2 separate regions of the Homo sapiens genome follow, and region 1 is linked to region 2. The links are contacts of gene promoters, found by promoter capture Hi-C in human tissues and cell types (Jung and others, 2019). All regions are on one chromosome and are shown on one strand. Each heading gives the region's core, a stretch centred on a gene start or on the middle of the fragment in contact. The rest is flanking DNA. Distances are from core to core; before and after follow the strand shown. Region 1 overlaps PEX14 (peroxisomal biogenesis factor 14). Region 2 holds the start of UBIAD1 (UbiA prenyltransferase domain containing 1).

Region 1 (4,641 bases), core at 1,585-4,084, 780 kb after region 2:
GGTCTGCAGAGGGTTCCCAAAAATTCCTCATGCCCAGCTACTACCACATTAGCTGGCACACAGCACAGTGGCAAGCACTCTGCTGGGTGAAGGCCTCTATCCCTCCATCCGAAGTCCTGTCCCAAGAGCCTCACCACCCCAGGACAAGAGGTCAGCCAGCAGGAAACGATCTAGAAAGTGAGGGTCCGTCTCAGGGAATGTGAGCAAGCTTCCCCTGCCTCCCTGCCTCCTGTCCTCCCAAAGCTCCAGGCATTGGTAACTTCAAACCTTTAGAGCTCCAGCCCACACCCCTCTGAGATACACATCCGACTGCCTTCCTGCCTCTTCTTGGAGTTAAGCTGCCCTGGAGCAGACTCACAGTCCTCTCTGACACATATGTCTTCTTCCAGCATTCCCTCTTGGCATGAATGGGACAAACTTCACCAAATGATGTAAACTAGAATCCAAAAGGCCATCTTGAGACAGCTCTTTCTCCCTCGCTCCCAGAGCTAACTCATTACATCAAGTCTGCCATACTCCTTCCTCAATATCCATGGAAGAGTGGTGTAAATGCCAGCACTTTGGGAGGCCCAGGAGGATGGATTGCTTGAGCCCAGGAGTTTGAAACCAGCCTGGGCAACATGGCAAATCCTCGTCTCTACAAAAAATATAAAAATGGGCCAGGTGTGGTGGTGTGCGCTTGTACTCCCAGCTATTTGGGAAGCTGGGGCAGAAGGATCCCTTGAGCCTGTAAATTCAAGGCTGCAGTACACCATGATCACACCACTGCACTCCAGCCCAGGTGACAGAGCCAGACCCTGTCTCAAAAAAAATTAAAAAGTCCATGGAAACAATCCATCCGTTTTTCTCCATCTCTACTGCCATCACTTCAGTCCAAGCTACCAAAATCCCCTGCCTGGACCACTGCGTCAGCTTTCTCATCAGTGCTGGCGCTCTTCCAATTCATATTCTGGGATGCAAACAGACTATCATTTCCAAAGGAGAATCTGCTCGTCCCATCCCTTGTCCACCCACTCACCCCAGTAAACACAACAAATTTAAGGGCTTCTCCTTGCTCTTAGAAGACAGAAAAACCTCAGCGTGGCCTACAAGGCCTCACGTCTACTCTGACTACACCTCAGGTCTCAAGCGGCACCACATTGCCCACTTCTGCCCCCTGACAGACGCACTGGCCTTTGCTTTCTCTGTCACTGCGCCTTTGCACATGCCCTTCCTTCCCTTTAGTTCATCCTTCAGATCCAGCTAAGACACTTCCTCAGGGAAGCATTCCTTCTCTGACATCCATGACTAGGTCAGATCTCCCTGTGACACATTCAGGTAACACCACCTGCCTCTCCTTCAAGGACCTGAGCAGATGTGCAACTTTACATCTGTGTGACTATCGGACTGATGCCTGTCTCTCTCACCAGATTATAAACTCCACGTGTGCAGAAACTGCCTGTGTTTGCTTATCACTGTATCCCTGGGGGCTAGGACAGTGCCAGGCACAGAGGAGGCCTTCAATAGAAATTTGCTGAATGAATGAATGGGCAACAAAAAAACAGAACAATGGCAACAACTCAGCTGAATGGATTATTTAGATTCTTCCGTTCATTATCTTCCTGAGGGTTTCCTCTACTCCATTTGCTAGATACTAAGTGCTAACATTCACTTAGCTCTTTCCTCCTTTAATTCTCACAATAAGTATATCAAATTACTGCTGATGAGGAAACTGAGGCAAAAGAGGTTAAATAACTTGCCCATGATTACTCAGATAGTAACTGGTACTACAGGGATTTGAACCCTTCTACTTAATCAAAATAAGCAAGTTTTGTTTAAACCACATTTTATTAAGCAACAACCTTAATGCTACCCCATAAATAATAATGTAGGTTATTTGACCAGACAAAACACACAAAAGCAAACAGCTTTAGTATTTAGGAAGCCCCATTCTGACTTAACCCAAAACTTTCTTCCTAAAATAAAACTAATCACTATGAATTGTTTCCACCAAGGAACTGCTCTTAAAATTAGTTCATCCCTTGAATAGCTAGTATTTACCAGAGGGAAAAACTTCAAACAGTACACAGTGCCAAATAAGTCTCTTTCATCATAAACCCTTTAGTACCTTTTAAATTATAAGCCATGTAAATGAATTGTTTTAGAAAATTCAATATTAAAAGTAAAAAAGAAAGCTTCCCTCTCATTCCAACCCTAGGGGACCCACACTGACGCTGGTTCCTTATATATTCTGCCAAGGATATTCAAAGCATATAAGAAGCATGGCCGGCCGGGTGCAGTGGCTCATGCCTGTAATCCCAGCACTTCAGGAGGCCAAGGTGAGCGAATCACTTGAGGCCGGGAGTTAGAGATGAGCCTGGCCAACATGGCGAAACCCCGTCTCTACAAAAAAAATGCAAAAATAAGCTGGGTGTGGTGGTGCATGCCTGTAGTCCCAGCTACTCGGGAGGCAGAGGCACAATAATCGCTTGAACCCGGGAGGCGGAGGTTACAGTGAGCTGAGATCATGCCACTGCACTCCAATCTAGGTGACAGAGTGAGACTCTGTCTCCAAAAAAAAAAAAAAAAAAAAAAAGGAGCATGGCCAAGTGTGGCTTACACCTTAAACCCAGCACAGCACTCTGGGAGGGTACAATGGGAGGATCCCTTAAGGCCAGGAGTTTGAGACCAGCCTGGGCAACACAGCGAGACCCCATCTCTACAAAAAATTTAAAAATTAGCCGGGTGTGGTGGTGCATCCTATAGTCCCAGCTACTCAGGAGGCTCGCTTGATCCCAGGAGGCAGAGATTGCAGTGAGCTATGATGGTGCCATTGTATTCCAGCTTGGTCAACAGAGCAAGACTCTGTCTCAAAAAGAAAAAAAGGGTGCATGTGTATGCATATTCCTACCATGGAATTTGAAACAGCAACACTCCAAATTCCTCAAGTCATGGCTTCCCAGAGCCACAGTCCCAGTATGAAGCTGGGAATACAAATGTGAGCCACCACACCTGGCCTTTTTTTTATTTTTTTAATCATGGCCTACCCTGTGAACATTTTTTTAAAATCTTCCACCATGCTAGCTGTTTAAACAATCGAAGCAGGCCGGGCACAGTAGCTCACGCCTGTAATCCCAGCATTTTGGGAGGTCGAGGCAGGCAGATCACCTGGTCAGGAGTTCAAGACCAGCCTGGCCAACATAGCAAAACCTCATCTCCAACTGATCCTGGAAATCTTCACAGAGTAGTCCATGATTAAAAAAAAAAAAAAAACAAGGCCGGGCATGGTGGTTCACACCAGCACTTTGGGAGGCCGATGTGGGAGGATCGCTTGGGCCCAGGAGTTCGAGACCAGCCTGAGCAACATGGTAAAACCCTGTCTCTACTAAAAAATACAAAAATTTGCCACGCATGGTGGCACATGCCTGTAAGTCCCAACTACCCAGGAGGTTGAAGTGGGAGGATCAACTGAGCCCAGGAGGTTGAGGCTGTGGTGAGCTGTGATCACATCACTGCACTCCAGCCTGGGTAACAGAGTAAGACTGTCTCAGAAAAAAAAAAAAAAAAAAAGGCTTAGAAACCACCCACAGGCATCTATTGTAACGATGTAAGAAAAGGACCTAAGGCAATCCATGCCCAGGATCCTTAGAGGCCTGAATGGGGAGAGCAGGAAGAGAAGAAAGCAAAAGCAGAAAACTGCTTTAAAAAAACAAGTCAGGCAAAGACTACGGCGGCAGAGAGAGAAATGCTTTTCTTTTGGTAGAGACAAAGGTGCTCTCACTCCTGCTGCCAAGGCGCTGACCTTCCCCAACTGGAAGGCGTTCCCAGATCCTGACCTGCTGTCCAACAAAGAACAACCTCACAAGCAGCTCACAGATTTGAGCAACTGGCGAAAGCTCCAGGTCTAGGAGAACCCATCCTGCATCTGCCCAGTAACTGCGACTTCAGATAGGAGAACCCATCCTGCATCTGCCCGGTGACTGTGACTCCAGATAGGTCCTAAGCCAGTCTGTGTAGTTCTCTGCTGGGAAGAATAAGATTCGATCCCACCAATATCCTTTGAGATGCAGTGGCATGACAGAAAGTACACAAGCTTTGGCATTAAGAACTCAGTGATTTGGGGGCACGCTGCTCAACCTCTCTGAGCCTCAGTTTCCTCATCTATGGGAATAACGGGAATAATACCACCACCTCACATTTGGGATTAGAGGAGATGATAAGTTATTTCATGTCACTCCTCTGCTCAAAGTCAACCAATGCACTTCCACTTCGGGTCATGATGGAGTGATAGGGAACAGATTTGCCCTCCCACTGTAAACAACTAGAAAACTAAGCCAAATAAATAAAACCACTGTGTGTACACATTGGACAGCAGGCAGTGCAGGACTACGATCCCTGAAAGCAGAGAAACAAATTACTTGGGCCCTAAAATCACTCTGGCTTCCTGCCAGGAGACACATTTCAGGCCCTGGAGAGAGACGGGGATCCCCAGCAGAGCACGCCACCCACTTAAGTTGAAGAGACAGAGATCAGAGTTCAGGGAGGCCAAGGCAGCTGAAAGCTGCAGGACAGACTTCAGAAAGAAAGAGCTATGCAGAAAAAGTGGTCCAGAAATCTGTCTGGAGGTTCCCTCAGGTCTCTGCTGAATACTAAAATTTGTGC
Region 2 (4,617 bases), core at 1,946-4,445:
AGCACCCAGCCCAAAGTTAGTCTGAAAATGTAAATAAAATGTGGAATGTGTCCAAGAAAAAAAAAAACCTTTGAGTTATGCTTAATTCCTCTGTTTCTCTTTACCTCACATCCAATCCATCAGCAAACCCTGTCTACCTTCAAAGCATATTTAGAATCTGGCTACTTACCTCTTCCACTACCACCCGCTAGATACAAGCCACCAAACATCGCTTGCCTGGATTATTCAAGAGCTTCCTACTTGGTCTTCCTGCCTCTACCCTTGCCCCACTCCCCTTGATCCATTCTCAATACCTTACCCAGAGCAATTCTTTTAAAACATTATATTACATCACTCCCTTGCTCAAAGTCCTGCAGTGGCTCCTCCATTCCAGAGCCAAGACCAGTGGCCTACAAGGTCTATATAATCCGTGTGTGTGCCTCCTTACCCTCCCCAAACGTACTTCTCTTACTTTACCTCTCTTTACTCTCTCCTTCATTCACACACTGGACTTCTTGCTGCTCTGTAAGCTCTTTGGACACATTCCTGCCTGAAGGCCTATGGCACTTGCTGTTGCTTTTCCTGAAATGCTCCTCTCTCAGATATCTGCTTGGCCAACTCCCTCACCTCTTACCTCCTTCAATGTAACTCAACTCAAATACTACCTTTCTGAGGCATGGTCTCACTCTGTCGCCCAGGCTGGAGTGCAGTGGTGTGATCAGGACTCACTGCAGCCTTGACCCCTGGGCTCAAGCAATTCTCCCGCCTCAGCCTCCAAAGTAGCTGGGACCACAGGCAAGCACCACCATGCCCAGCTAATATTTTTTATTTTATATTTTATACAGACAGGGGTCTATGTTGCCCAGGCTGGTGTTTAACTCCTGGCCTCAAGCGATCCTCTCGCTTCAGCCTCCCAAAGGGCTGGGATTACAGACATGAGCCACTGCACTCAGCCAAATGTTACCTTTTTGATGAAGCCTACCCTGATCAAACTACTTAAAATAGTAATCTGTGTCCCATTCTTTGCTCTACTTTTTTTTCCCATAGCACTTATCATCTTTCATATACTATAATCAGGGTGATCAATTCAACCTGACTTACCAGGAACTTTTCTGGTTTTAGCTCCAGAAGTCGCACATCCGACTTAGTCCTGTCACCTTAGTCCTGAGCAAACCAGGATATTGGTCACCCTAACTATAATTTTCTATTTTTACTTTCTGTCTCTTTTCATGATAATACGTAAGTTTCACAAGGGCAGGGATCTGTGACTGCTGTGTTCACACAGAACAGTGCCTGGCACATAATAGGTGCTCAATAAATAGGGCTTACCCACCTGCCCATCACTACCTTAATCAGCCTCTTGCAAGAAGTCACCTAGCAAACTAGCTAGAAGTAATTATCTATATCATTTTGAACTCTTCAGATTTAATTCTAATATTTGAAACTGTGGCATTATAAAGTATGAGTGATTAAAAAAAAAAATGAGACAGAAAAAATGTCCATATAGGCCGGGCATGGTGGCTCACGCCTGTAATCCCAGCACTTTGGGAGGGCAAGACAGGCAGGTCATGAGGTCAGGAGTTCAAGACCAGCCTGGCCAACATGGTGAAACCTTGTCTCTACTAAAAATACAAAAATTAGCCAGGCGTGGTGGCACATGCCTGTAGTCCCAGCTACTCGGGGAGCTGAGGCAGAAGAATCGCTTGAAGCCGGGAGACAGAGGTTGCAGTAAGCCGAGATGGTGCCACTGCACCCTTGCCTGGGCAACAGAGCGAGACTCTGTCTCAAAAAAAATAAAAAAAATTAAAAAATGTCCTGACAGGGCGCGGTGGCTCACGCCTGTAATCTTAGAACTTTGGGAGGCTGAGGCGGGTGGATCACGAGGTCAGGAAATCGAGACCATCCTGGCCAACATGGTGACACCCCGTCTCTAATAAAAATACAAAAATCAGCCAGGCGTGGTGGCGTGCACCTGTAGTCCCAGCTACTCGGGAGGCTGAGGCAGGAGAATCGCTTGAACACGGGAGGCAGAGGCTGCAGTGGGCCGAGATCGCACCACTGCACTCCAGCCTGGGCGACAGAGCGAGACTCCGTCTCAAAAATGAATACATAAAAAATAAATAAAAATAAATGTCCATATAAAATTTTCAGTCATGCCCTACGTCCGTAAGTCAAACCAGGATCTTCTCAAATCACTGTTTCAAAAAATTCACATCACCCACAATTATAGACTTCAATTAAAGCGGCTTAAATTAGAAAGCCACCTTTGACATCCCTATAACTCCTTTACAAAGCAGCGGTTTCCAGTGGACGCGACTAAGACCTGCAGCACACAGGACAGGCCAAATCTTACCTCCTGTGTAGAGAAAGGAGCCAGACAGGCCTCCAAAGTAGATAAGAGCCAAGTGCTCCAGTTTCAGAGGGGACAGGTAGTAGAGGCAAGCGGCACAGACGCAGCCCAACGTGTAGAGGAAGACTCCGAACCGGACGACATCCTGCGGCTCCAAGATTCGGTCCACAAGTGTCCTGTCATCACTCTTTTTGTGGTCAATGCCCTTGGAAAAGTCATAGTAAGTGTTGACCAAATTACCGGCCCCGTGCACAGCCAGGACAGCCACGGCACAACCCACCAAGAGCCTGGGATCCAGGACACCGTGGGATCTGTAGGCAAGGGCACTGCCCAGGGCCACCGGTGTGAGTGAGGCACTGAAGCTCCAGGGCCTCAGGGCCAACACGTAGGAGGCACACTTCTGCCTCCAGGAGCGCTGGGGGAGCCTATCTTGCTCGGGACAGTCGTTCCCCAGCGGGTCCCTGTCCCCAGCTTTGACAGTCTCTCCCGACAGGATGTTAATCTTCTCCCCCAGGACCTGAGAGGCCGCCATGGAAGCTCCACGTGGTTGAAGTAAACTCTAAAAGTGAGCCACGCACAGTGACCGCCCGGGAAGGAGGAAGGACGGGGCGGGGCAGCAGGGCCCGACCTTCCTTCGGTTCCGCCCCAGGACAGGGCTGGTGTGGCGGCAAGGTCCGGGGGCAACAGCAAGTGGGTCTTACACCCCACGAGGCCAAGCGGCGCCGCCCCTACTACCCGTCACCTGGGCGAAGTCTGTCTCCGGCCCCCAGCCCCGCGTTAGAGCCCACGGCTGAGCCGCGGCCGCCTTCTTTAGGCCGCCAGAGCCGCCATCTTGTGCGCCGGCCTCTGGAGGCCCGCCCGGAAACAGGTGCCGGCGGCGCGGGCTGGACCGGAGGGTGGGCTGGAGGGCGGGAGGGGGCGGGGCCGAGCCAGAGGCGGGGAGAAGGGCGGTGAGGGGTGGGGGGCGGGGGCCTGGTCAGAGGCGGGGCGGGCAGGGCCGAGTCAGAGGAGGGGCGGGGTCAGAGGCGGGGAGAAGGGCGGTGAGGGGTGGGGCGGGGCTGAGGGGCGGGGCCAGACCGGTGGTGGGGCGGGAGGGGGCGGGGCCGGGGCGGGAATGGACCGGGAGCGGGGACGGGCCAGGAGCTGGGGCCGGGCGGTGACCCGGCATCCAGCCCTTTTCCTGCCTGCACTGCGCCCCGCAGCTACTTCCAGACTAACTGCAATCAGCCTCTCTTAGCATCATAAGAACTCGAAGGCGTGTTGCTTTAGGACTTACCGGGCGCACTTTCATTCACGAAGTAGGATTCATTAATTTATTCATGCTACAAGCATTTATTGAGCGCCTGCTGTGTGCATACATTCTGACGTCTATCATATCTGCACCGTGGAAATACTCTATGATGTGCTACTGCTCACCTCTTATCAGCTTTTCATTCAGTGACATCCTTCAGCAGCTTGAAATCTGCCCATGGTGGGAGAATTTACACCACGCAAATCAGCAAATGCTTAATAACTGCTAAGTCGTCTAGACTTAAGAAAGTGGCGGAGAAAATGTTCATATTACTGGTTAAACTTAAAAGTGTTGGAGGGTGCGGTGGCTCACGCCTGTAATCCCAGCACTTTGGAAGGCCGAGGCAGGCGGATCACTTGATGTCAGGAGTTCGACATCAGCCTGGCCAACATAGCGAAACCCTGTCTCTACTAAAAATACAAAAATTAGCCGTGCGTGGTGGCAGGCACCTGTAATCCCAGCTACTCGGGAGGCTGGGGCAGGAGAATTGCTTGAACCCGGGAGATGGAGGTTGCAGTGAGCCAAGATCATGCCAATGGGCTCCAGCCTGGGCAACAGAGTGAGACTCCATCTCAAAAAAAAAAAAAAAATTAGCCGGGGGTGGTGGTGCATTCCTGTAATCACAGCTACTCGGGAGGCTGAGGCAGGAGAATTGCTTGAACCCTGGAGGCAGAGGCTGCAGTGAGCCAAGATCACGCCACTGCACTCCAGCCTGGGCAGTAGAGCGAGACTCCGTCTCAAAAAAGAAAAAAAAGAGAGAAAAAAAGTGTGTAAGTGAATGCACCAAAACTTTGAGGAAATATTCGTTCAGCATTGGCAAATTATTATCCAGTTGAACAAATAAGTCGCTTGTAGCCTTGACAAACTAGTGAAGTTCTGACATATCTCTTTTGATTGTTTCACTTTCCTCTTACTCCTAACATAAAATATCAACCAACATTCATGTCTGAACTATGCTCATTGATCAATTGGGACCATAGGGAAGCTACACAACATC

What was found. The method cuts DNA at HindIII sites, captures the fragments that hold promoters and counts their contacts. A contact is called where the count stands out against the background at its distance.
Region 1: a fragment that was not itself captured here is called in contact with the fragment with the promoter of UBIAD1 in region 2 in 1 of the 25 tissues and cell types used here (psoas muscle).

Annotation. Positions count from the first base shown.
Region 1 is chr1:10,489,609-10,494,249 of GRCh38, reverse strand. All of the region lies in intron 1 of PEX14 (peroxisomal biogenesis factor 14), which reads right to left. Among named protein-coding and RNA genes, the nearest start is that of PEX14, 17 kb to the right of the region's middle. The HindIII fragment of the contact is 3,285 bases long and covers 1,192-4,476 here.
Region 2 is chr1:11,271,776-11,276,392 of GRCh38, reverse strand. UBIAD1 (UbiA prenyltransferase domain containing 1) reads right to left here and starts at 3,195. Exons shown (of 2, transcript NM_013319.3): 1 at 2,333-3,195. The coding sequence starts at 2,861. RefSeq lists enhancers at 2,927-2,976, 3,067-3,236 and silencers at 3,237-3,286, 3,347-3,616. The HindIII fragment of the contact is 12,769 bases long and covers 1-4,617 here.